Regions from separate parts of the Homo sapiens genome. Here all the other regions are linked to region 6. Evidence: promoter capture Hi-C in human tissues and cell types (Jung and others, 2019). All regions are on one chromosome and are shown on one strand. The core of a region is centred on a gene start or on the middle of the fragment in contact, and the rest is flanking DNA. Distances in the headings are between cores, read along the strand shown. Region 1 overlaps PTPN9 (protein tyrosine phosphatase non-receptor type 9). Region 2 overlaps UBE2Q2 (ubiquitin conjugating enzyme E2 Q2). Region 3 holds the start of PTPN9 (protein tyrosine phosphatase non-receptor type 9). Region 4 overlaps FBXO22 (F-box protein 22). Region 5 overlaps PTPN9 (protein tyrosine phosphatase non-receptor type 9). Region 6 holds the start of CSPG4 (chondroitin sulfate proteoglycan 4). Region 7 overlaps FBXO22 (F-box protein 22).

The links. The method cuts DNA at HindIII sites, captures the fragments that hold promoters and counts their contacts. A contact is called where the count stands out against the background at its distance.
Region 1: a contact is called between a fragment that was not itself captured here and the fragment with the promoter of CSPG4 in region 6, in 2 of the 25 tissues and cell types used here (dorsolateral prefrontal cortex and mesendoderm cells).
Region 2: a fragment that was not itself captured here is called in contact with the fragment with the promoter of CSPG4 in region 6 in 1 of the 25 tissues and cell types used here (liver).
Region 3: a contact is called between the fragment with the promoter of PTPN9 here and the fragment with the promoter of CSPG4 in region 6, in 2 of the 25 tissues and cell types used here (adrenal gland and pancreas).
Region 4: a contact is called between a fragment that was not itself captured here and the fragment with the promoter of CSPG4 in region 6, in 2 of the 25 tissues and cell types used here (heart left ventricle and mesendoderm cells).
Region 5: a contact is called between a fragment that was not itself captured here and the fragment with the promoter of CSPG4 in region 6, in 1 of the 25 tissues and cell types used here (stomach).
Region 7: a contact is called between a fragment that was not itself captured here and the fragment with the promoter of CSPG4 in region 6, in 1 of the 25 tissues and cell types used here (mesenchymal stem cells).

What each region holds. Positions count from the first base shown.
Region 1 is chr15:75,463,516-75,466,215 of GRCh38, forward strand. PTPN9 (protein tyrosine phosphatase non-receptor type 9) reads right to left here. Exons shown (of 13, transcript NM_002833.4): 13 at 1-2,700. Among named protein-coding and RNA genes, the nearest start is that of SIN3A, 13 kb to the left of the region's middle. The HindIII fragment of the contact is 4,221 bases long and covers 1-2,700 here.
Region 2 is chr15:75,895,231-75,897,930 of GRCh38, forward strand. UBE2Q2 (ubiquitin conjugating enzyme E2 Q2) reads left to right here. Exons shown (of 13, transcript NM_173469.4): 12 at 1,765-1,831. It also overlaps the pseudogene RN7SL510P. Among named protein-coding and RNA genes, the nearest start is that of FBXO22, 7.3 kb to the right of the region's middle. The HindIII fragment of the contact is 4,691 bases long and covers 1-2,700 here.
Region 3 is chr15:75,577,880-75,580,579 of GRCh38, forward strand. It overlaps PTPN9 (protein tyrosine phosphatase non-receptor type 9), which reads right to left and starts at 1,436. Exons shown (of 13, transcript NM_002833.4): 1 at 835-1,436. The coding sequence starts at 897. RefSeq lists silencers at 644-1,043, 1,304-1,793 and an enhancer at 1,003-1,601. The HindIII fragment of the contact is 16,601 bases long and covers 1-2,700 here.
Region 4 is chr15:75,929,764-75,932,463 of GRCh38, forward strand. FBXO22 (F-box protein 22) reads left to right here. Exons shown (of 7, transcript NM_147188.3): 6 at 121-286. Among named protein-coding and RNA genes, the nearest start is that of FBXO22, 27 kb to the left of the region's middle. The HindIII fragment of the contact is 5,750 bases long and covers 1-2,700 here.
Region 5 is chr15:75,536,244-75,538,943 of GRCh38, forward strand. All of the region lies in intron 1 of PTPN9 (protein tyrosine phosphatase non-receptor type 9), which reads right to left. Among named protein-coding and RNA genes, the nearest start is that of PTPN9, 42 kb to the right of the region's middle. The HindIII fragment of the contact is 5,613 bases long and covers 1-2,700 here.
Region 6 is chr15:75,711,424-75,714,123 of GRCh38, forward strand. CSPG4 (chondroitin sulfate proteoglycan 4) reads right to left here and starts at 1,425. Exons shown (of 10, transcript NM_001897.5): 1 at 1,245-1,425. The coding sequence starts at 1,332. The HindIII fragment of the contact is 20,321 bases long and covers 1-2,700 here.
Region 7 is chr15:75,913,187-75,915,886 of GRCh38, forward strand. It overlaps FBXO22 (F-box protein 22), which reads left to right. Exons shown (of 7, transcript NM_147188.3): 3 at 17-104; 4 at 924-1,019. Among named protein-coding and RNA genes, the nearest start is that of FBXO22, 11 kb to the left of the region's middle. The HindIII fragment of the contact is 3,628 bases long and covers 1-2,700 here.

The sequences.
Region 1 (2,700 bases), core at 83-2,582, 250 kb before region 6:
AGTTAGCTATGTCCACCATGGCCTTAGCCTGAAAAATATGGGCATTTAAGACTTCAGCAGGCCACATTTAGCTCAAACAGGAGGATTTTATGACAGCCAAGGTAAAGAAGGGAGATTTAAACATTGTAACAGGTTTCAAGGTGCTAGATTTTTTTTCCCCCAAGAAAACATCTCCAAGTAAAAGTGATATATTTCTATTTGTGGAGAAGATCCTAGTCTTCTCTGTAGTCAATTATGAACAGTGCAGTCTAGAACACTTGATATTCACAAGTGTTGTGTAAAGGTAACTATAGGGCGGATACCTCCTAAGAGAAAAAGATGGTTCCCAGGCTGATGGGCATTTCCATTCCTGCCCTTGGTAGGCTCACAGTGGTTTGTGGGAGTAACCAAGGCCAGAGAGAAATCTAAGGACTAGGTTGGGAGCTATAGGACCCTTGGTCTGTTCATGCTTTGCCTCTGAGAAACCCTGTAGACCCCACATTAAGAAACAGGGAAACTTTAAAGGCCTATAGGCTGGTCTTGGAGATGACAGAGACCTGACCTGCTTTTCCTCCAATTGGAAGGCCAAGGGGGAAGAGAACTGAGGGAAGCTAGGGAAGTAGCAGCAGCTTGAAAGAAGAGACTCTGAAAACACACTAAAACTGGAGAGGCTGGGTGTGGTGGCCCATGCCTGTAATCCTCTCACTTTGGGAGGCCGAGGCAGGAGGATTGCTTGAGGCTGGAGTTCGAGACCAGCCTGGGCAACATAGTGAGATCCTGTCTCTAGAGAGAGAGAGAGAAAAAAAAAAAAAGCTGGGTTCCTGCTTGAGCCCAGTTGTTGAGACTGCAGTGAGCCATGATCATGCCACTCCCCTCTAACCTAGGCAACAGAGTGAGACTCTGTCTCTGAAAGTAAAAAAAATGAAAAGTGGGGAGTGCTAGTGGGAGCCAACTCAACCCAAGTAAAGGCCTAATAGCTCCTCTATGGGTGTTTGCACTGTCTAACAAAGAACTGGACCCTGACAGTCAGAGGACCCATGGTAGGATCATCTAGTGTAGCCCCTTCTTTTACAGAGGGAACCTAGGACTTGGGTTTGGTTCAGTGGTAAGACCTCAAAACCACAAAAGAGCTGGGTCACTCTAGAGAAGCTTTTCTACTTGGCCAATGCCTCTTGGCCCAATTCCCTCTAGGTCTCTGATTTATAAAAGTTTTTGTATGTGTGTCTGTCTGTCCCAAGAGACAGGAAGCATTCCTTTCAGGGAAGGAACCAAATTTCCCTAGGGCTATGATGCTAAATAGTCCATTCTCCCAAGAACAAGTCCTACTCTGTCATTTACCTGCATACTGTCACATGAAGACTGATAAGGGTGGGCCTCCGAGGCTGAGGATGCTGGGGCACCCTTCGTCTCAGGAGTCCCATCCTAGCCAATGAGGATGGGCAAGATGAAGGGAGCAATGGGAAAAAGGACACAGGGATTATCTCATGTTTGAAAAATTATATAGCATGGGAATGTTAGAGAAAGGTGAAACAAACAGCCATCAAATCAGAAGCAGAAGCCTGCTTTAGCTCAGTGTTTTCTTCTTTCCTGAACACTGTCTTTCTTTTTTATTTATTTATTTTTTTTGAGATGGAGTTTTACTCTTGTTGCCCAGGCTAGAGTGCAATGGCGCGATCTCGGCTCATTGCAACCTCTGCCTCCCAGATTCAAGTGATTCTCCCATTTCAGCCTCCCGAGTAGCTGGGATTACAAGCACATACCACCACACCCGGGTAATTTTTATATTTTTAGTAGAGATGGGGTTTCATCATATTGGTCAGGCTGGTCTCAAACTCCTGACCTCAGGTGATCTGCCCACCTCGGCCTTCCAAAGTACTGGGATTACAGGCATAAAGCCACTGCACTTGGACCCTGAGCATTTTCTCTTGCTTTGTTCACTAAGTCTCCTGTATGAGAACCCTGACTTGCCAAACAGATTCTGGGTTGCGTCTCTGCCTTCCCTTTCCTTTACCTCCTCCTTTAACACCTAACACAGGTAGGTTCACGCTGGTAAAAGCTACAAACAATGGCAGTGGGAGGAGTTCCTCTGAGTTTTACTGAAAATTTAGGAGACATCAATTTGTTAACTCTCTATAGGGTCAGAAACATGAACTAAATCTATGGTTCCCAAACCTGGATAATCCTGTCACTCACTAACAACCTACTGGATGGGCCCAGAAATCAGCATTTTATGGAGCTGAAGTGATAGATAACCTCACCAGTCTTCAGATATGCAATGAGGAACTCATGCATAACCTTAAATTCACAGGGCAGTCGGGTTACAGCCTCTTCAAATAAATGACAATTTAAAGTTACCTCCTCCAGGCCGTTTATCATTAATCCCATTTCTTACATGTTCCACCAAACCCCTGACCTCTCTGGTTTCTCAGATTTCCAAGAATCTCTGTTCACTTCTTATGTTTGTGCACTCCCAAGAGAATGGAGGCTCATCTGGAGAAGGAACTAGATTAATCTTCTGCTCTACACTTGAGCTCCTGATTATGGTAAGAAACTCGATAAAAATTTATTGGCAGATCAGAAGATGGATCCTTAGAGGAAGTCTAGTGTAAGAGGTGAAAGAAGATACTTTGGAGTCAGATGGTCTGGGATCCTGGCTGTAGCAAATTAACATTCCTGTCTCTCAATTTTTTTCTTCTGTCAATACCTACCTCAAAAGGTTGT
Region 2 (2,700 bases), core at 86-2,585, 180 kb after region 6:
TGGAGTGCAATGGTACGATCTCGGGCTCACTGCAAACTCTGCCTCCTGGGTTCAAGCGATTCTCCTGCCTCAGCCTCCCAAGTAGCTGAGATTACAGGTGTGCTCCACCACGCCTGGCTAATTTGGTATTTTTGTAGAGACGGGGTTTCTCCGTGTTGGTCAGGCTGGTCTTGAACTCCCAGCCTCAGGTGATCTACCTGCCTCAGCCTCTAAAAGTACTGGGATTACAGGTGTGAGCCACCGTGCCTGGCCGGCTTTACTATTTTAAAGAGCTCTTAGATGTTGAAAAAGACTACCCTGTAGAAAAATAGGAAAAGTCCTTACATAAATTTAACATGTTAAAAAAAAATAGGAAAAGGGGGTATAAAAAGTCTGTTTACAGAAATAGAAATAAATGGCTCATGAACATAATGGAGACATGCTCAGTCTCACTCAATAGAAATACAAATCAAAACTATACTGGGAGTCCATCTAGTATATTGTCAGAAATCTACAAATGTTTGAAGTACTGCATTGGTGAGGCTGCATCGAGGCACTCTTACAGATGGCTGGTGGGCAGACACATTTGTGCAGTTATGTAGAGGGCAATTTAGCAATATCTCAGAATTACACATATATATCTTTTGACACAGCAGCTCTACTCTAGGACATTTTTACCAGTACTCAGCAGATATACGTACAAGGTTGCTCTTGGCAACATTATAACAGCAAAATATTGAGAAACCCTGATGTCCACCAATAGGGGACTGATTAAATATTTGAATATCCATATAATAGAAATATTTCAGTGTTTAAAACAGGTATGTTCTATACTGATAAGGAACATTCTCCAAGATATGCTAGACAAGAAAAGGGGCAGACCAGTGTCTGTAGCATGCAACTGTTAGTGAAGGAAAGCCAGGGACAGTGGCTAATAACAGTGGGCTGTACATGAATAATCTTAAAGAGGGACATACAAGAAATTAGTAATAGTGGTTAACTTGTGTGGAGGAAGGGGGATGAACGGGAGGAAACTGGGTGTTCAGGGCACCAAGTAGGAGGGAGAGTTTTCACTTAGGATGTAGACATTTTTGAGTCTTGTGCTGTGTGAATTTATTATGCAAAAATTTCTGCCACATAATATAGTGGATAGATGGGTACCACTATGGAGAGTGCTCCTGGTATATTAATTCGAAGCGAAGATATAGGTTGGTTGTACTTATGGTGACAAAATTAATCCTAGATTTGGCTCCTTAAAAAGATTGTATATTTTTATCAAAAGAGGGCTCCTTTAGTAAGCATGGTGACAATTATGGGCATTCTTTAGATTTCTAACTTAAAATGTCATTCATATGTATAGTTGTGGAAGCTTAATATTTTCTTATCTGAAAGTAATATTTTGTAGTTTTTTTAAAAATAGAAATTGTGTGAAGACAGTTTGAGTTTTATTAACATCCAGATATAATCCTTTAACTTGATTCAGCAATATGGAGACGGACTCTAGAACCAGAAAGCTTTGTACTTGTCCAATGGTAGGAAGACTTATAAAAATGAACTGTGAGGCTTGTTGAGTTTTATTGGGGTACAATTTTGGTTTTGTTATTTTTATAAAATTGTAGAGAATAATGAAACTGAGAAATGAGGCTATTAAGTTAAAATTGTTTTTGAAATGGAGATAGTCAGTTTCCCATGTTCTTTTAAGCACAGTGTGATGCATTCATAAATTTATTGTAATAATTTTCACCTAATTACACTTTTGATTTAAAATGTGTAATTCTCTTTCAGAATCAATATAATCTAGCAAGAGCCCAACAATCCTATAATTCCATTGTACAGATACATGAGAAAAATGGTATGTTTAATTCAATAAGTGTTTATTGCCATTTAAGAAGTTTTAGATAATGTATTAATACTTACCATTTTATTTTTCTGTTTTTGCTTTAGTTTCTTAAAATGCTGTTACCATGGTGAAAGAAACTTGTGCTGCATACAAAATCTTTATTTATTTATTTATTTATTTTATTTTATTTTATTTTATTTGTTTTTTGAGACGGAGTCTCGCTCTGTCACCCCAGCTGGAGTGCAGTGGCACTATCTCAGCTCACTGCCAGCTCCGCCTCCCAGGTTCATGCCATTCTCCTGCCTCAGCCTCCCGAGTAGCTGGGACTACAGGTGCCTTTTTTGTATTTTTAGTAGAGACCGGGTTTCCCTGTGTTAGCCAGGATGGTCTCGATCTCCTGACTTTGTGATCCGCCCGCCTCGGCCTCCCAAAGTACTGGGATTACAGGTGTAAGCCACTGCACCACAAAACCTTAACATTGTACTTCAGTCAAAATTTTTGTATCCTATACACTTGGCCTAGGTATCTCAGAGTCAGAATCAAGATTTCTTTTTTTTTTTTTTTAGTAGATTAATGAATGACTCACTTTACTTACTTGAAATATTAGGAACTGAGTTAAAGGCAACTCCTTACAGATGGAGTTCTTGTTGTTATAACTGGAGTGCAGTGGTTGTTTACAGGCGTGATCATAGTGGACTGCAGCCTCAAGTTCCTGGGCTGATGTGATCCTCCTGCCTCAGTCTCCTCAGTAGCTTGGACTGTAGGCACAAGCCACCATGCCTGTAAAGTATTCTTTACTTTGCTAGAAATGTGTCAGTTTGTGACTTAAGATTTGTGTTTTGTGCTCATTTATTTTAATGACAAAGCAAACTTGTCACTCT
Region 3 (2,700 bases), core at 186-2,685, 130 kb before region 6:
AGTCTAAGCTAGCAGACCTTCCCATCTTCCTCAGGAGTGGTCCCTGTCTCCGCAGCTGGAATGTGCGGGAGGGAAAGTTACAAGGGCCCCCAAAATGAGACAGCAAACCACTTCCTTCTGAAAACTAAAGGTCATAGGCTTTTAAGGAACAATAGAGCTCAATGTAAGCTTCAGAAAGATGGAGACAGTCAGATGAGACGAGGGTAGGGAAGCGCGGGTGAGGAGATGCGCCCCGTCTGGGATAGCTGAATAGGGGGGTCAAGGCCAGGGACTTTAGGAACACGAGAAGGGCTGGATCTTCCATAACCTGCCCAAGTGGGCCTGAGAAACCTAAGAGGCTCCTCTGAAAATCTAGGGCATCTATGCATCCAATACTCTCAGCCCTCTCCTCGGGAAGGGAGATAATCCCCACAGGAAGCACCCCCCAAACTGGGGCTTTTCCTGCCCTTCAAAAGCCACAAACCCTCACGGAAAACATTTACAAGGGAGTGGAAGGGCCGGGGGCAAGCAGCGGTTCTGCAAATCTCGGGAAGAAGGCCCCTGGATCCAAGGAACTTTGCCCCTGGAATAGGGGGTGGGGTGCGGAGGGCACCGTCTGAGGCTGGTAAGCCTCGGCGAAAGAAGCGGCGGGAACGGGAGTAGGGTCCCGTGGGTCCCCCGACGAGGGGGTGGCGGCCTGGGGCGCGGTCGCCGGTGAGGGAGGCCCGCGAGCCGGGCACGGGAGCGGGGGGCTGCGGCCCCGTGGCTGCAAAGAGCCGGCACTCGGGAGGCAGAGGCCGGCGTAGGCCTCGGGGGCCCGGACACACCCAACGCGGCGGCCTCGGGCCCGCTTACCTGCTCCTCCTCCGGGGTCAGCTCCGGCGCCATGTCGGGCCGGGGCGCGGTCGCGGGCTCCATCCCCCCGCCACCGCCGCCGGGCGGACAAAACTCGCTCGCGAGCGCGGGAGCCCGGCGCGCTCGGCCTCCGCTTCCGCGTCCCCGCGCCTCAGCAGCCCGGGGCCGGCTCGCGCATAGTGTGGCCGGCAGGGCCCGGCGCCTGCAGCGGCCGCAAACGCCGCTTCTGCTTCCTTAAGAAAAATCTCTCCGAACTGCCGCTCTCTTCCGGGAGGAAATCCTTTTTTATATTATTCGCTCCGTTCCTCACACTCCCCCTTATCTCCTGGGGAAGAAAAAGTGCAGGCGAAGAGCTAACAGCCACTCGGGATTTAAAAGGAAATAGGAAATCAGGAACTTTTAGAGCCGGGAGCGAAGGGTCGGCGGAAATTTCCCGAAGGCCGCCGACCCCCTCGGCGCCCCGCTTCCTCGGCCGCGCTCCCGCTCCTCCACAGCGCCACAGAGCTCGGGGCCGCCCAGCCGGGCCGTCCTCGCGGACGCTGGCCCTGCGACCTGCGCGGCTGCCTCAGCCAGGCTCCTCGCGGGCGGCCGCAGCGAAAGGGAGGGAGTGGAGAGGGAGCGAGGGAAACGCGCCCCCCTCCTGACTCACGGCCAACGCTGCGGCCGCCCCGCGGCCGCCCGAGCCCCCCGCGGCTCCATTGAGAAACTGAGCGTCTCATTCACAAGCTGGCGGCGAGGAGGGCCCGGCGGAGCGAGGACGCAGTCCGGGAGGGGGAGACAGAGAGGAGCCCGGGCGGGGGAGGGGACCGGGAGGGGGAGGGGACCCGGGCGGGGAGGGGACCCTAGCTGGACGGAAGGCAACTCGACTGCGGGAGGGAGAAAAAGGAAGAAAAGAGTATTTCGTGAGGCTCAGATCCTCGGAGGAGGAGGAGAATACGTTCGTTTGCAAATTATCTGCTGACTGGCACCTCTCCTGGGGTTAACTTGCCGCTGCCACCTACGCGTGAGAAACCCACAATCCTCAACTATTTGTCGCTTGCAGCCTGAAAGACCCTGGAAAGGTTGCCTGCCAGGCCAGGATGCTTAGGTGGAAGGAATCGCACCTGCCTCCCTCTCTCTCCCTCCTTACTGGCTGCACCCTGTAATTCATCTCCAGTGTCGCTAATTTTAATCCCCCATAGAAACGACATCAGACTCCGAACATCATTCAGGAATGACGCGGCCTTTGCAGACCTTTGATTTTCACTAGGGCAAGTGCAGCAAAGGGTTCAGGATTAGGGGTACAGTCTTGGAGTCATTTGGGGAGGAATGGGGCATAGAGAAGGCAAGGCTGGGTCTGGTACGTTGTTGCATTATTCCAAGCCAAAGATAAATATTCCAAAGGGACCCAAAGTCCACAACTAGTTCCAAGGCTGAAGCCCTGGAGCCAGTCCTGAGGGACCCAAAGGAGGGGCCTTCAGACAACAGGAAGGTGCTGTGAGTTGTGATGCTCCTATGATTTTTTTTTTATTTTTTTTTTTGAGACGGAGTCTCTGTGTCGCCCAGGCTGGAGTGCAGTGGCGCGATCTCGGCTCACTGCAACCTCCACCTCCCGGGGTCAAGCGATTCTCCTGCCTCAGCCTCCTGGGTAGCTGGGATTACAGGTGCGAGCCACCACGCCCGGCTAATTTTTGTATTTTTAGTAGAGACGGGGTTTCACCATGTTGGTCAGGCTGGTCTCGAACTCCTGACCTTGTGATCCGCCCGCCTCGGTCTTCCAAAGTGCTGGGATTACAGGCAGGCGTGAGCCACCGCGCGCCTGGCTTTTTTGTTTTTCTTTTTTTGAGACGGAGTCTCACTCTGTCACCCAGGCTGGAGTGCAGTGGC
Region 4 (2,700 bases), core at 1-2,500, 220 kb after region 6:
TTAAGCCACTAAATTGCCCTTAAGGTGGAGTGCAAGTCAGTAACATTTCATTTTGCAGCATGTATAAAATAATTTCTGTTTTAAGGCTGTCTTTAACTGTTGCTCTTCATTTCTCTGCAGGTCTTTTAGATAACCCTGAACTTCGTGTGGTCCTTGTCTTTGGTTATAATTGCTGTAAGGTGGGAGCCAGTAATTATCTGCAGCAAGTAGTCAGCACTTTCAGTGATATGAATATCATCTTGGCTGGAGGCCAGGTGGACAACCTGTCATCACTGACTTCTGAAAAGTATGTCTTGTGTGCTTCTGATTTCGTCTGTGAATGAAGGGAAATGGTCTCAGGTTTTGTCACTTTGGGGTTAACAATTTAAAAAACGTGTTTAAAGAATTATTAAGATAATAGTTCATTCCATTTTGTAGTAGACATTGGCTAAGGGGCTTACTGAACATAATTCTGCTTACGGTTGAATAATTACATTTTTATATATATTGTCCTTCAAGAACTTCCTTGAGTCACATTCTCCTTAAAATTTGACATTGCCTGTTGATCTTTCCTTTGACAGATGTGGTACTCTGTGTGACCTCAATGTGTCACCTCCTTTCTAGTTTCCTCCTTTAAAGGAAACACATGGTTAGAGTGTATCTTTATGGCAAAACTTCTCAGAGCTTCTAATATGCCCAGTGCTGTGGAAATCTGGAAGGAGAATAGCATTACCTGTGACAGTTCCCAAATGTGTTTGGTCACAAAACTTTTTTCCACAGAATGTCTTGCAAGTCGTACTGGTTTTTGGAAATTCTGTATTAGATCTTTTGAAAGGCTTTTTCAAGCTTAAAAATTGTGGATCTTTTTTGTTACTAAGGCTTTTGCTTTCAAAGATAAAAATATTTGCTCTTCTGTCTTGGGAGCCATTACTTCCTTTCCATCTTGAATGAAAATACATATCATTTTGAGTTTGAAACAATTAGGTGGACATAAATATCATTTGTTTCCAGCAGGAAAATCAGACCCTACCCCACCCTCAATGCTTGTAAACACTACTATTTGTTTCCCACTCTGTTTAATATTTGCATCCTAGAGTGGTGACATGGGGACAGACTGTTGCAGATCAGTATCTATAAGAATAATGTAAGTCATCCTAGTTATAGTCTCTCTTCTGGTTATCTCTATGAGCTAGATCTGGGAAAATAGCTAAAGTTGAGGTCCCTGGACTGCCAGGGAGGAGGAAGAGAGGAAGGCCAAGTACGTTGAATCCCAGGCAGGATATCAAACACTGGATTTTGTGCATACATACACTGAATTCTTGGTGGCTATCTAAGTTATTTCCCCTCTTGCCTAATTTTTCCTGTGTCTTTGCTATTAACTTAAATTGTGTACGGATAGGGCAATGGTGATTCAACATACAGTTTACCTTTGAAATGCAGATACCTCACTCAGACTTATAACATCTGAGGTGCTAGCTTGTAAGTGTAGCTATTTGTATATCATCTACTTTTTATACCTAATAAGAGAAACACCCCCCACCCCAATCATTACTCTTCACATGACCCATTAATTTTAATGTGGTCTTCATACTCTGTCAGTGGTTAAGAGAAACCATTGAGTAAATGAGGGCTCCATTTTAATAAAGTCCAGATAACCCAACTGACCCAGTGCCCCAAAAGGAAGATGTATAATTCTTTGAGGCAAGATTGACAATGTATATTAACAATTCTGTACCAAAGAGGAAATGTGATAAAGTTTTAAGAGCAGCAGAGGACTTCAGAAGACGGATTTTGCCCCTCACAAACTTGTTTTACTACTAGCTAGCCTTATTACTTTAGTCACTTAACCTTTTTGCGTCTTAGTTTCTCACTAATCCAGTGACTCTTGCCCATTTTATAGATTCAGATGTTGGAAGCATGATACAATACTTGTTTATCCCCTAGTGGATGTTCACTATATTATGCTTTATTACTTTTATCAATGTTGTATTTTCTTTTGTAAGGATATTTCATTTTTTAAAAAAACCAGGCAAATATAAACAAAAACAAAGCATGAGTTTTTACCATCAAATTAAGCTGAACTCTAGACTCAAAGCAATAAACAAGACAAAAAAATAACATAATCATATTTTCTAGTGGACTAGACATAAAGCTAAAACTTCTAGAGTTAATAGGTTTTTAAAATTATCCTCTGAGTGCAGTGGCTCATGCCTGTAATCCCAGAACTTTGGGAGGCTGAGGCAGGAGGATTGCTTGAGCCCAGGAGTTTGAGACCAGTCTGAGCAACATAGTGAGACCCTATCTCTACAAAATGTTTACAGATTAGCCAGGTGTGGTGGCATGTATCTGTAGCCCCAGCTCCTTGAGAGACTCAGGCAGGAGGATTGCTTTATCCCACGAGTTTGAGGCTGCAGTGAGCTATGATTGTGCCACTGCACTTCAGCCTAGCTAACAGAGAACCCTATCTCTAAAAAAATAAAATCACCCTCCATTATTATATTTTTAATATACATCTTTCAGAATTTGACAGCTGAAGTCGGGGGGAAGAGATGTTAATGTAAACAATAGCAGAAGGCTTCGTTTAGTGGATATCTTTGTGTATATTAATAAAATTATAACATTCCTTTTAAGGAAGTCAGAAAGGTAAGGAAACTGTACTTTCTAATAACCGGATATGGGTTTCAGAAATCGTTATGGATGTGCATTGCCCCTTTGTATTTG
Region 5 (2,700 bases), core at 25-2,524, 180 kb before region 6:
CTAATCAGTACAGTAGTTGTTGAGAAGACACAACATAGATCGCTTCTTGGCCTTTCGCTAAGATCAAGTGAGAAGACACAACATAGAGACATAAAGACCCTATTCCAAGCAGTTTACAATCATTTAACTATGGAGACAGATGTATAAATACATCTTTACCACATAATGTAATAAATTCTAGGAAGGTTCTATGAACAGAATGCTATGGGATTCAAACTCTCTCTATGGATATAAAAAAAATTTTTTTAGGAGTGCCTTGAAGGATGAGTAGGAATCTGTCAGGCAGAGAAAAGTATTCTAGTCAGAGAACAAAATGTTTCAAATCAGGGTCATGAAAGAACAGGGCTTATTGGGGATATCATATAGCTAGTGTGTCCAATGTGTATGAGGGAGAATGGTGGGAGATGTGTGAACAGGGGGGCTGAACCAGACTGGGAAGGCCCTTGTATGCTGTACTTCAAATTCCAGACATGATCCTATAAACATAAAAGATTCAATAGAGATCTTTAAGCAAAGGGATGAGATGATGAGTTTGGTTCCCCTCTCCCACCTCAAAAAAATAACTATAAGCAGTGGGGAAGTCAGACTGAAAGGAAAAAAAATCTAGCAACAGGGAGGTAAGTTCCCTGAAGACAGGGATCATATCTATTTTATTCACCTAGTTCCTAGCACTGTGCCTGGCACAAAGCACTTACTTAATAAATATCTATGATGAATGAATGAATTAATTATTGAAGTCTCAATATTATTAACATTTAGAGGGCAGACAGAAGATGAAGAACAAAGGAACTTTTACAATTTTCTTTTAGAAATACTAGTGATTGCAGGCCAGGCATGGTGGCTCACACCTGTAATCCCAGCACTTTGGGAGGCCAAGGCAGGCGGATCACCTGAGGTCAGGAATTCGAGACCAGCCTGACCAATATGGCAAAACTCCGTCTCTACTAAAAATACAAAACTTAGCTGGGCATGGTGGTGGGCGCCTGTAATCCCAACTACTCAGGAGGCTGAGGCAAGAGAATTGCTTGAATCCAGGAGGCTGAGGTTGCAGTGAGCCGAGATCATGCCATTGCACTCCAGCCTGGGTGACACAGTGAGACTCCGTCTCAAAAAAAAAAAAAAAAAAAAACTAGTGATTGCTGAAAATCAAATAAATGGTGATCTAAACAAAAACAAGAGGAATCGTCAAATATCTTCCCTAAAAAAAAAAAAAAAAAAAAAAAAAAAAGGCCAGGCTCGGTGGCTCACGCCTGTAATCCCAGCACTTTGGGAGGCTTAGGTGGGTGGACCATGAGGTTAAGAGATCAAGACCATCCTGGCCAACACGGTGAAACCCCCACCTCTATTAAAAATGCAAAAAACTTAGCTGGGCGTGGTGGTGCGCACCTGTAGTCCCAGCTACTCGGGAGGCTGAGGCAGGAGAATCACTTGAACTCAGGAGGCGGAGGTTGCAGTGAGCCGAGATGGTGCCACTGCACTCCAGCAGGGCAACAGAGGGAGACTCCATCTCAAAAAAAAAAAAAAAAAAAAAAAGGCCAGGCGTGGTGGCTCACACCTGTAATCCCAGCACTTTGGGAGGCCAAGGCAGGCGGATCACCTGAGGTCAGGCGTTCAAGACCAGCCTGGCCAACATAGTGAAACCCTGTCTCTTCTAAAAATACAAAAATTAGCTGTGTGTGGTGGTGCCTGCCTGTAATCCCAGCTACTCAGGAGGCTGAGGCAGGAGAATCACTTGAACCCAGGAGGCAGAGGTTGCAGTGAGCCAAGATTGTGCCACTGTACTCCAGCCTGGGAGAGAGAGCAAGACTTTGTCTCGAAACAAAACAAAACAAAACAAAACACACACACACACAAAGCTTCACAGTAAAGATAGCTCTCACATTACAGGCTTCTCCGAGGAATGTAAAGACTTGGTTTAACATCAGGAGATCTATCAAAGCAATTTTTATGTTAACAGGAAAGGAAAAAAAAGTATATAACCTTCTCAACAGATGCTGAAAATGCACTGCGTAAAATCCATCACACATAGGCCCCGTAATTTTTTTCTATTAAAGATGAGAAGGCCAGCAGGTACCTGCTATTACCACCACTATGTAACATTGCACTGAAGGTCATACCTAACAGAAGCCAAAAGATGCGTAACAACCTGATGCAAAAAGACAGGAATTTTAGGCCAGGTGTGGTGGCTCCAATCTATAATCCCAGCACTCTGGGAGGCCGAAGTGGGCAGACTGCTTGATCTCAGGAGTTCGTGACCAGCCTGAGGAACATGACAAAACCCCGTCTCTACAAAAAATACAAAAATTCGCCCAGCATGATGGCACACGCCTACAGTCCCACAAGTGGGAGGATCACTTAAGCCCGGGAGGCAGAGGCTGCAGTGAGCTGAAACTGTACCACTGCATGGCCCCCCAGCCTGGGTGACACAGCCAGACCCTGTCTCAAAAAAAAAAAGGAATGTTAAAGAAGAGAATAAAATTCAGAAACCACACAGTGTATATCTAAGTATACAGTATATGAAACAAGTAATATGACTATTAGTAAGCAAAAAGTATTATAGGAATTTAGATATGCACATAAATATTTGTAGGATACACAAAAAACTGGTAATAATGGTCACCTCTGGGGAGAGAAAATGAACTGGGGCTGGGTGTAATGCTTCACACCTGTAACCCCAACACTTTGTGAGGCTGAGGCAGG
Region 6 (2,700 bases), core at 175-2,674:
AATGAGCTGACCACCCTGGTCACCTTGGATGCTCCCTTCCCATCTCCCTGGCGGCCCAGCCCATCCCTCAGGCCCTGAGATCTTAGGGGATCTGGTCCCTGCAGGAACAGGGAGCCTGGAGATCCAGCCCTGATTCACCCCGCGGGGGTCCTCCCTTGACTCACTTCCCTTCTGGGAACCATGTGATGCCCTCTTTTAGAGCTGGCTTCTCCATCTGAAGGAGAGAAGGGTGTGGCCTGGGCCCTTGTGAAGGAGGCTCAGGCCCTGCCTTTGCTCCATGTTGCTCTTGGGAATGATCTCGAAGGTGTAGCTGAAGCACTGAATCACACGTGGGTAGTGATGATGGATGGGCCCTAAGGCCACAGTTCTTATGGCATAACTAGAGCTGCCTTCGCTGAAGGAAGAATGCTGTCATGTTGGGGTTTCTGGCATCGGGACAGAGAGGGGATATATCCCAGCACTTCTCGGAAAGCGAACTTCCATTCAGCCTCTGCTGGGTCAGGCATCAGTGCTGGGATGAGGAGGTGTGGCAGGGGGTGGTCCAGAGCTATCTGTAGGACAAGCCCCGCTGAGGGGCACCAGCTCTCCCTCTAGGAGGCTGAGAGTGGGTAGTGGGTGGGGGGTCCTGCCTGTCACCAACAGGAGGAGGGAGAGGAGAGAATGAAGAGGGGAGGTGGCAGATAGACGGATCTGCAAGGAAGCAAGGGGAGGAAAGAAGGGGCAGAGCTGGGGGGCAGCTGGAGGGGTGTGGGGGTGCTCCTCACAGGGGAGGGCAGGGTGGCTCATTCCTCGTTTCCCACCTTGTAGCACTCCCCATTCCTGGCCCAGGGCATCTGAAGCTGGAGGACCCACTTCTCACTGTCGCCGGGTCCCTTTGGACCCCAACATACTCACCCCAAACTTGCCTGGCAAACAAAGCTCGGCCAGCATTGGGGTGGCCCCACTGGTGTCTCAGACAATCCAAACGGGCAAAGCCACGCCCTAGGCAATCCATGCCTGGGGCGCCTGCTCCCGCCCCTAACTGGACAGCCTTGGCTAGCTAGAAACCCCATAACCTGAGATAGCGGGGTCCCGTGTCCGCCCCAGGATTGAACCCCTGGCGACCCCAGCTAGTGGTGGGAGAAGCGCAGCCTGCTTGACTCCCGATCTGGGGGCCACTTCTGGCTCCTCCTGTCCCTTTTCCCTCCCGGAGGAACCCCTCTAGTTCCGCCAGGCTGGGTCGGGGTCTCAGGCCCCTCACTCACCCGCGGATGCAAGTCTGGCCAACATAGTCAGGGTCAAAGCCAAGGCCAGGCCGGGGGCTGGAAGTGGGGGCCGCGGCCCGGACTGCATCCCGGCGGGCTGGGCGGCAGGACTTGCGAGGAGCCAGCGGAGTCCTGGGAGCTGGGAGCTGAGTGGAGCGAGCGCGGCTCTGCTCCTGGGCGCGGGCCGGCTCCGGGTGTCCGCGCACTTAACTCCGGGGGCGGGGCAGGCGCAGACCCGCGCGCCCGCTCGGGTTTCAGGCTTGGACTCCCCCACCTGCCCCCACCCTCAACCTTCTTAAAGGGCCCGTGCGGGGCTGTTCCTCTCTGGGGCAGGGGTGAGGGGGCCCTTGCAGCTGGGCCAGACCCCAGCCCCACCCTAAAGACTTAGAACAAAGTCATAGAGAGGCCCAGACACCCTGAACTCTGGCCCCAAGAGCCGAGCCCGGGAGACCCCCTCAGGGAGGAGGCATGAACTGTCCCAGCCCCTACTTCCCTCCTTTCTGCCTTTGCGGGAGTTCAGGAGACCCCTCCACAGGCACACTCCAGCCTTAGGAGGAAGGACAGACACCAGCCACCCTCACAGGCGGCTTTTGGGCTGCTTTGCCTCGGAGGTCCCCTAGGAACTTCTCCAGACTCCAGAGGCACCACCCGAGGTCCTGTGGGGCACTGCCCATGGCTGCAACAGTGACCTTCTCTGCCTGGAAGGGCCTCACCTCAGTCTCCCTGTCTGTAAGGGAGAGATGTCTGGATTTCCTCGCAGGGCAGAAGAATTCTCAGTCCCGCCATGACATTTGCCTCAAAATAACCTTGCAAGGTGGGTGAGGAGCATCCCCTCCCCCATTTCATGGAGGACGAAAGTGCAGCTCAAGCTGAAAGTGGCTCTTACAAGACTCCAGGTGGAAAGTAGGTCCCTGGCCGTTTGGTGCCAGAAGCCCAGGCCTCCTGACCCCTGAATCCGGGTGTTTCAACTTCCCGAGGCTGCCTCCTGGAAATCTGGCCCTGGATTTGGCTTCTACCTAACAGCTTCAGGCTGGGGCCCTTCTGCTGGCTCCCTTCCAGGCAGCAACATCAGCCTAGTCCCAAACAGGAGGAGAAAGGGCAATGTTACTTAGCTTCCGGTGCCTAGAGGATCTGCGTGTTCTCTGTCCAGTCCCAATGTTACCGGGCCTTGGTTTACTTCCTCCATTCAGGTCCCTCCATCTATCTGCTCCAGCCCATCTCCAGCCCAACCCCACCTTGCACCCTCTTCCCAGCTCTTCCCTTTGACCAGTAACAGCCCAGCACTTCATACTTTGCAACGAAACTGAGACCTGTTTTGCAGATGAAGAAACTGAGGCTGAGAGAGATTAAGGGACTGGAGCTAGTCTACATAGCTGCTGAGATGTGGGGCCAGGTCTTTGACCCTAAGTGCAGTGCTCAGGTGTGATGGTGCCTGGTCCATGTGGGGGTTATGAGT
Region 7 (2,700 bases), core at 105-2,604, 200 kb after region 6:
TTTTTTTTCTTTGCAGAATGTTCGCATCTTACCACATACAGTTCTTTACATGGCTGATTCAGAAACTTTCATTAGTCTGGAAGAGTGTCGTGGCCATAAGAGAGGTAAATATCAAAAGAAAAGCTTTTGCTTCTGTTTTTTTATCATGTGCCTTCCGTTCGGAGTTCAATATTATACTTGTCCTGAGAGTTAACTGACTTTCTGAGGCTCTGGGACTGCCACCTGTAGTATGCATCAATATATCTATCTTTGAACCTTGAGGAACCCTTTCTGCTTCAGATTGATTTCTAAACCTTGTAGTGCAATTGAAACAAATTCGTTAGAAAGGTGTTGTTCTCAATTTGAGATGCTTTAATTCTCCAGGCACTTTTTATTATTAAAACAGGTTGTATGACTTGGCTATTCAGGCCTTTTACTGTATTGGAACATGAGGTCCCATTTACTAAAGTTATGTAGAGAAATGGTGCATTTTTGGCTTGCTGAGGGAAAAGGCAGAATGGGTATCCAAGATGCGCACACTCAGGTCCCAAGTTAGACTTAGATAATGGATTCTCATTGTCTAATTTGATCCAGGTGACTGTTGATGCAAATAGTAGTTATACTGCAATATCAGCTGAACAGAAAGGTACAATAGCAAGTCTAAAATTCAGCTGTTACTGCTAAATTTGACATCACTGGGGCAAAAGCAATATATGAACAGAGGGGAAAGGCAGACTAGTGGTGCAAAAGATCAGATTTATAATTTAAAAGCCAGGACCAAAACAGGTAAAGTGTTTGTTTTAATCAATGCTTTTAGACCTTTATTTAGAGCATTCTCGTGTTAAATGACTTAAATATTTCCAGTATTTGCTTTTTTACTTTTTCATTCTCAGATTTGACTTTAAATGGATGATATTTATCATTTTGCTACTGTATTTTTACAGCAAGGAAAAGAACTAGTATGGAAACAGCACTTGCCCTTGAGAAGCTATTCCCCAAACAATGCCAAGTCCTTGGGATTGTGACCCCAGGAATTGTAGGTGAGATAAATTAGCAACTTGATGATTTCTTCCTTGCATTAATGTGGGGTCCTTTGGATTGGTGAGTTATTTTTAGCTTAGAACCACATTTCTATTTCTGTCCATCTAAAATACAATAAAGTCAGTCATATTTACCATGGCATTATATTTGCCTTATATTAATGTTTATTAAGTTATTGTACTTCTCATCTCAAGGTTACCTGTATAAATATCCAGTAGTCATTCATAAGAGGGGAATGATCTCATTCTGCCTTCCTCCAAATTAGGAAGTATTTGTGGGCATTTTCAGAGTTTTGTCAGTTCAAGCAGTATTGTGTTTGGTGGGTAGGGGTGAGATGGGGCTGGGATTAGGAGCAAAGCTGGGCCTTACTAGGAGACTTCTGTTTCTCTGCTTTGGTACCACTCTTCAATGTTTACAGCATGAGGTTGTGCCCCTTTCCATGCTTGATTGCTGCTGGTGAATTTTTGCTGGTTTTTATTATTTTTGATTCTTTTCTGTAGTTAACTGGGGGAGGAGAGATTCTGTTGAGGCAGTAATGGTGCAATGGTTAGATACCTGGATTCGAATGCCGGCTGTACCGCTTAGTATCTGTATGACTTTGAGCAAGTTACCTAACTTCATGGGGCTTCACTGTCCTCATCAAGGAAGTGGGGATGATGACAGTAGTACCTTCCTTGGAGGGTTGTGAGAATTAAATGAGTTAACACTTGTAAAGCATTTACAATAGAGATACACAAAGCAGTAAGTAAATGTTAGCTGTCATTTATGTATTGTTTTTGAGATGGAGTTTCACTCTTGTCACCAAGGTTGGAGTGCAATGGCGTGATCTCTACTCACTGCGACTTCTGCCTCCTGGATTCAAGCAATTCTCCTGCCTCAGCCTCCCAAGTAGCTGGGATCACAGGCGCCCGCCACCACCACACCTGGCTAATTTTTGTATTTTTAGTAGAAACCGGGTTTCACCATGTTGGCCAGGCTGGTCTCAAATTCCTGACCTCAGGTGATCCACCGCCTCAGCCTCCCAAAGTGCTGGGATTACAGGCATGAGCCACTGCACCTGGCTGCTGTTATGTTTTTTTGTTCCAACTCAGTAGTACTCTACTGAGAATTGTCATTTTTAATCTTCACTGAAAGATTTTTGATCTGAATTTGAGTCTTATACAGTGAGGTAAAAAGAATTTTACATGTTTACAAATGAATATTATTTGTTCAGTTGCTCTAGCTGTGGTTTCTAAAGGGCTTAACATTTTTTTAAAAAAAAGAGTTTATTTCTTTTTGGCCTGGCGTGGTGGCTGACACCTGTAATCCCAGCACTTTAGGAGGCCGAGGCAGGCGGATCACTTGAAGTCAGGAGTTGGAGACCAGCCTGGCCAACATGGCAAAACCCCATCTCTACTAAAAAATGTAAAAATTGGCCAGGCGCAGTGGCTCACGTCTGTGGTCCCAGCACTTTGGGAGGCCGAGGTGGGTGGATCATGAGGTCAGGAGTTCAAGAGCAGCCTGGCCGACGTGGTGAAACCCCATCTCTACTAAAAATACAAAAATTAGCCAGGCATGATGGCGGGCACCTGTAATCCCAGCTGCTCAGGAGGCTAAGGCAGGAGAATTGCTTGAGCCCGGGAGGCAGAGGTTGCAGTGAGCCGAGATCACGCCATTGCACTCCATCCTGGATGATAGAGC